Regions from separate parts of the Homo sapiens genome. Here region 1 is linked to region 2. Evidence: promoter capture Hi-C in 16 types of primary human blood cells and fetal thymus (Javierre and others, 2016). All regions are on one chromosome and are shown on one strand. The core of a region is centred on a gene start or on the middle of the fragment in contact, and the rest is flanking DNA. Distances in the headings are between cores, read along the strand shown.

Region 1 (3,528 bases), core at 499-2,998, about 11 Mb before region 2:
GCCTGGCCTATACTGGAGTTTAGTTTATCCACTGGGCAGGTTGCTCAAGTTCAAACTCCCTAAGCAGATATTCAGCGAGTATCTTACATAACTGGCACAAATGAGGTCATATCACGGTCAGAACCTCTGTATGCATTTATCCCTCCATCTACTTCATTGATAAAATGTCTGTGTTCGTGAAGTGTATTTTGATAAGGAGACTATCTCTCCATCGTCTAATAAAATGAAACTTATGCATGGTGTGATGAGGTTTTTTACTTTGTATGTAGCAACAAAGATATGTTATGGGAAAGACAGCTTCCTCATTCCCAGGGAAGTCATTTTCTTCTGAGAGTCTGAGTTTTATTAAATCACCAAGTATCATCTCCCTGTTTGTGCTCCCAATGTTGGTTAACAAACAAAGAGCAGCCAGGGGAAACCCTGCCTTTGATAGTCACCATACATACAGTATGCTGTTTTGGTTATCAATTGCTATGAAACAAACCACCCCCAAATTTAATAGCTGAAAGTGATTTATTATAATTTCTCACAGTTCTTGGTGTTGACTTAGCTTAGCCAGGGAGTCTTCTGCCGGTCTTGCTTACAGTCTCTTGTATGTGACTGCAGTCATATAGCAGCTGGAGCTGGAGTTCTTTGGGGGCTTGAATAGGTGGGCTCGAAGGTCCAAGATGGTTTCTTCATTCACATGTCTGGTGTGTTGGTTCACATAGTCTCTCTCTCTCCATTTAGAGTTTCATCTTCCATGACTTTTCCCATGGCCTCTCTTTCCATCAAGGTAGTCAGACCTCTTAGGATGATGGCTGACTTCCAAGAGTATAAAATTAAAAGCTGTCAGGGCTTTTTCAAGCTTAGGTTAAAACCTGGCATAATGTCACTTCTGGCCTCTTTCCATACCTTAAAGCAAGTTGCAGGGCCAGCCATGCTTGTTTCAATATGAGGGGACTAGACAAATGCCTCAATATCAGGAGAGGTGGTTTACTGGGTGCCATCTTTGGAAGCTTTCTATACTTTACACTGGACAAAGTAGAATTTCAACTACAATTCTAAAAGATTATGAATATTTTCTGGCTCAAACATGGAGAACAATTGAGAGGAAGTGACAGAGAGAGGAAGAAGCCTCAAAGTGATGGAGGATTTTGAAACAATCGGTACTTTCTTGCACCTTGCAACTTGGCAGATTGGAGCACAAAGGAGGTGGAACTAAGGGGTCAATGCATCACCATTATCCAGACTTCTTATACCCAGAAGACTTACTTGATGATACTTTTTTTTTAGACAGAGTCTCACTCTGTCGCCAGGCTGGAGTGCAGTGGCGTGATCTCGGCTCACTGCAACCTCCGCCTCCTGGGTTCAAGCAATTCTCCTGCCTCAGCCTCCCTGAGTAGCTGGGACTACAGGCGCATGCCACCACAACCAGCTAATTTTTGTATTTTTTAGTAGAGACAGGGTTTCACCACGTTGGCCAGGATGGTTTTGATCTCTTGACCTCGTGATCCGCCAGCCTCGGCCTCCCAAAGTGCTGGGATTATAGGCGTTAGCCAGAGCACCTGGCCAATGATGCTTATTTTTTATGAGCAATCTGGAGCAAGGTATCACAATTGACACATCTCAAGCATGTAGGGAAGGCCGTCTTCCCAAAGACAGCAAATGATTCAGGAATCAATGAAAAGGTACAAGAGTCAATAGAACATAAAACCAATTGGAGGGTATTTTTCCCAAATAGTAGCGAGGAGAGCCTGGCAGCAAAAAAGGATCCCATGGCAGCAAGACAGGAGAGAAAAACCAGCACCTCCTCTTTCTTGTTCTTTCTTGCTCCTCCAGAGCTTCTCAACATGCATTATCTGTGCCCTCCTAACACAATAGGCAGGTTTGGAGGGCAAAGCAAGGGCTCAGGCTCTCATATGAAGACAATCACATTCCAGAGTCTGCCAAGATTGGGCACCTCCTTGACGTGGGTGGTCTTGAGAATGGGGTTCCCTTTATTTGGCTAAACCAAATGCCAAACAGCTTTTCCTTAGTGTTTGTTTTTCTTAAACAAGTTCAAACTCTTATCATATTGCTCCCCTCCCTTTGAAAATATGTACTCTGCAGATGCCTGAAATAACACACTCTCAGCAAATTGCAGCATTGGAAAAGTGAAGGTTATTTCATTCAGTCTAAACTCAATGGAAATTTTGTGGCTTAACAAGGAAATACCAAATACTTTATAAACTCCTTTAGAGCAGTAACCATGTCATATGACTCTGGTATCTCCTACCTACTAGGCTCATTGTCTACCTTCTCTGATGTCGTAATTTTAATAAGTAACTTGAATTGTTAACAATTTACTCTTGTCTTTTTCTTGGACTCAGAAATGTTATTTTATTATTATGTCTCTGCATCTTTCATGTGAGGTCCTTTGCAAACAGTTTTCTCCTAACTTGTTTTCATTGTGCAGATCATGTTGCAGGGTTTTCACATAACAGCTGAAAGGAATTAATAGGAGTTAAAGAAGCTTGCTTCAATTACAAGTAATTAATTTAGGCTTCACTTATCTCAAGGAATATCTGAATATACAAATTTACACATAAATCCTGGGAGTGTCAAATTATGCAACCTAGAGAAAGTAAGCTCTGCAGCTTTTTGGGCGTTGATTGCTATAGTCAGGGGTGTGTGTGTGGTTTTTGAATGAAATAGCAAAACCACTGCCAGTATTATCTACTTCACCTGGTTTTGAATAATTCCAGGAAGCTAGAAACTGAAAACCAGTCTTGTATAGAGTTAGAAAGATTGTAAATGCAGAAGAGGAAGAAAAAAACAAAACTAAACCATTTATCTATCCTCTTTGAACCCTTATAAGAGTTCACAATATTCCTCGTTTCAAATACTTGAAGTCTTCTCTGGGCAATGATTAATTTTTAAATAATTGTTTTTAATGTAAGACATAAAACATACGCACTGCAGATTTAAAGCATACTTGGAAGTAACAAGGAGAAACATAAAAATCGTTGATTCCACAGCATTTAATATATTGGTAACCTTCAATTTTTTTCTAGGCACGTTTTTATAAAATGAGCCAATACTATACAAACGTTTTTGTAACTTTTTTTAATTTGTACTATTTTGTGAGTACGTGAAAAAGAAATTTGTAAAGAGTAAACGATTACAGCATGTTGTGGTATTACACACTGTTGAAGGGCGCCATCTGTGGCGTGGTGGCTGCGCTTTGGTGGGAAGAGGTTCTCTTGGGGTTCCCGTTTTTCTCCCAGCTCTGGGTGGGCAATACTGACCACTCTCCGACCTAAAGGGGCTTCTCCGTTTGCCTTTGACGACCTGAGCTTAGGAGAATGGAGACACGTGGGAGTTCAGAGGAGGGCGTTCAGGGTGACTGCGAACACGAGCTGCCGGAGCTGTCCACATCTCCCCTAGGCAGGGCCCACTGGCCCCAGCCCGGGAAGGGAGCAAGGGCGGGAGGGCAGTTGGCAGTGGCACGGTCTGGGTCCAAATCTTTAGCCCCCCCCACCCCGGCTGGCGCCATTCTCGGGCGGT
Region 2 (3,425 bases), core at 632-3,131:
CCAGTTATGGTGATCCTTAAAGACTTCATGAAATTTGAAATGAACTCAGAAGAAGGAGATTTTCTCAGGTGAAGAAAGAGCTCAAAACAAAGTAGGGGAAAGCATTACCAGAAGAAGGAATATTTGTCCCACTGAGCGGAATAAAGGCTCCTTGAAGGGGAGGTAGAAGATAAGGCTTGAAAAGACGATGAGGTGAAGGGTCATGGATATCAGACTCAAAAGTTTGTAGCTAGTAAAAGTGAGCCGATAAAAATGTTACTGCTAAGGAACACATCGATTTTTCAGGAAAGACAAGAGTTTTTCCTGGCCTGAGATCCAAAATAAATTTCTTACATGAGATCTAGTAAGGGCACAGGGCACACCAAGTCACCGTGAGTGTCAAAGCAAATCTCAGAGTACTTTTAATCCAACAAACATTTATGAAACATCAGGCTTGGTGTTTTGTGCTAAATAATTCAACCTTAGAACAGAATTCAGTGAAGAGAATACGAGGCTAAATTAATATGACTTTCAAGATCTCCAAAAGGTAGGTTGATCATCTGTTCTGTTAACCATGATCCTGAGATATTTCCTTACAGATGAACTTTTCTCTTATAACCAAAGGTTTACAGTTCAAGATTATACACTTCATTGAGCACCCTGGTCCTGTGGTATTCTTTGCTGTATACCAAGTGCGGATTAATCCGCAGCTTTGAAAATCAAAGAGATATCACCAGTTGTTCATCACCACAGACATTTAGCTGGACTATAAATATTGGAAAGAAAAAAAAGTTGCTCGTGAAAATACGTGGTGAATTCCTTTAAAGAGAAACCGGTGAGAAATATTGCTTCACCTTAAAGCCTAGGATGGTAGCTACCGTTTTTCTCAAGACTGTCCTTACATAACCTATTGGCATGGGGAAAAAGTCAATGTTTATAAACTCCTTAAGAAACTTAAAATCTGGAAAAGGCAACTACGTATCATGTCAACTAAAGTAAGATAATTAACACTAGGATCAAAATTTGGAATCCACGTGAAAGATTCTGCAAAGATCACTTAAATCTCAGACCTTATGCACTATTTTAAATATTTATTTAAGCAGAAATAGAAAATCTTAGTCTATTATATTTCCATTTAATTTCCTGGACTTAAGAAATCTATGTGTGACTGATTGAGTTGCCTAATGGGGTGCAAACATAAAAATTTGCATTGGGATTCATTTTATTCTCAGTTTAAAATCAGTAGTATCATTGAAAACAAGACACTAATTTTCTGGAAGTTTAATTTATTTGTCCCTCTTATTATCGGGGCTGGTAAAAAAGGGCTAATTGAACACACATTCTAACAAAGATTGCAGCAACGCCTGCAAAGACGGGCCCAAGCGCACCGTATTTCTGTTAAGAACGTGTGATTTTTTTTTTCTGCGCCACCTTGTGGCCGTAAAACAACTTGCCCACGTGAAAGTTGACCGCTTTTTCCCGCGCCGGCAGAGCCTTGCTGAGAGCCGCACTGCGGGAATCCGCCTCCAGACAAACGTGCAGAAAATGGTGTCTTCCTTTACAACCAGTGACAGGAAACAGACTTCCCCTTCTTCATACTCCGTTTCCTTTATTCCTGAATTCCATTTCCTCGGCCCGCCCACCCACTGTCCTCAGACAGCCGTTTCCCAGTGTGACCTCCTTTTCCAGCTGCACTCTCCGGCGGAGGCCCTTTTCCCAGCCCGGACCCTCCCGGGCGGCCCTCGCAGCCCTCACCTCCGGGTCCCCGCCGCCCCTGCTCCATTACAGCACGATCCCCGCCACACAGGCCCGCCTCTCCCTCCGACAGCCAATCGCGGCGCGACCCCGCCCCTCCCGCTGGGGCCCGGGGCGCTAGAGCGCTCCGGGAGGCTAGGGGAGCTGAATTCTGCGTCTTCCTTTAGGCTGCGGCGAGACAATCCCCAGAGCCCCGCGGCCCGGCCTCGGGGCAGCCATGGACTCGCAGGAATTGAAGGTGAGCGGGTGAGCGGGTGAGCGGGTGAGCGGGCGGGCGGGCGGAGTTCCTTTGCGGCCTTTTGGCCCGGGGGCGCGGAGGGAGCTCGGGTGGCTTCGCTAGGCCGCTGTTTCCCTGCGGTGCCCCGGCTGCTCGGGTTGCGGGGTGGGCCTGCAGCCTCTGCTCACGGCCGGTCTCCGCGGGCCCTGCTGGGGAAGCCCAGGTCTGGGCAGCCCGCCCGCTCGGTGTTTCTGAATTGCTGGTCCCCATGCTGTTGGTTGTGTTTACTTTTGTATCATGTTTACTAGGAAAGCTTGGGTTACCTATGACACTGCGCCTCCGGGTGCGATTTTTAAGGACTTAAGGCAAACTAGTGTCAGCTCCCACACTGGACAGTAAAAAGAGCGCAGAAAGATTATATGAAACCCATTAAAGACGTAAGACTTAAAAGTGGAGGGGTCGTTATTTTAGGGTGATGGTCTTCTCTGTTTATCACTGACTCATTCATTCAGCAAATATTAATGACGGTCAACTTAAGAAAGGCTGATATAAAACAGTTAAAGACATGAGGCTTGAAAATAAAATAACTTTTCGGATGTTGGTCTTCTCTATTCATTTGTTCACTGAATCACTCGTTCAGCAAATATTTATGAAGGGTTACTGTATGTCCATTAGAAGCTGGAGATAGCAGTGAGCAAAACTGAACAGTTTCTGCCTTCTCAGATTTTACAGGCTAATTAATGCTGGGGAAAAACCCTAATTCAGTTGACTCAACAAATATTTACTGAATGCCTCCTATGTGTCTAGCACTGTTCTAAGCACTGAAATAATAAAACCAAGAAAAACTCTTCCAATCTTGGAGCTTACATTTGAGTAGGAGGAGTCAGACAACAAGTAGGTAAATGAAATGTGTATCCTGTGAGATGGTGATAAGTGGATGGAGGACAATTTGGCGATGTAGGAGGTTAGGGAATGCTGAAATGTCTTGTTTTTCTGCCTGAAGTTTTACATTATCCTCTGTTCTAGCTATCCCCCTATATCCTTACATTTTTTTATTCCCTTAAATGTATTATTTGCACTGCCACCCAAATGAACATTTTAATAAAAACACTTTAATGTAAAATGTAAAAATGGGCCTCCTCATTACTTAGACTTGAGGTTCAAGTCCAAGTACTTAATATGAGGCTTTTCACCCCACCTTCGTCTCCAACCTCATCATCCAATACTCTCTGTCTCACTTAAGCCTCCAGAGCAGAGAATAGCAAACTTTCTCAACAAAGGGCCAGATAGTACACATTTTAGACTTTATGGACCGTATGGTCTATCACATCTAATTGGCTTGTTCAAAACAGCCATAGACAATACTTAAATGAGCATGGCTGTGTTTCAATAAAACTTTATTTATGAACACTGAAATTTGACTTTCATGTAATTTTCATGTTATGAAATATTTCTTTTTTTTCCTTGACAGCTG

Evidence for each region. The method cuts DNA at HindIII sites, captures the fragments that hold promoters and counts their contacts. A CHiCAGO score of 5 or more calls a contact.
Region 1: a contact is called between a fragment that was not itself captured here and the fragment with the promoter of TTC21B in region 2, in 1 of 17 cell types (non-activated CD4 T cells). The highest score is 5.5, in non-activated CD4 T cells.

What each region holds. Positions count from the first base shown.
Region 1 is chr2:177,265,169-177,268,696 of GRCh38, reverse strand. No RefSeq gene overlaps it. Among named protein-coding and RNA genes, the nearest start is that of NFE2L2, 2.2 kb to the right of the region's middle. The HindIII fragment of the contact is 1,496 bases long and covers 1,001-2,496 here.
Region 2 is chr2:165,952,232-165,955,656 of GRCh38, reverse strand. It overlaps TTC21B (tetratricopeptide repeat domain 21B), which reads left to right and starts at 1,881. Exons shown (of 29, transcript NM_024753.5): 1 at 1,881-1,972. The coding sequence starts at 1,952. RefSeq lists an enhancer at 1,117-1,866 and a silencer at 1,631-2,030. The HindIII fragment of the contact is 9,565 bases long and covers 1-2,266 here.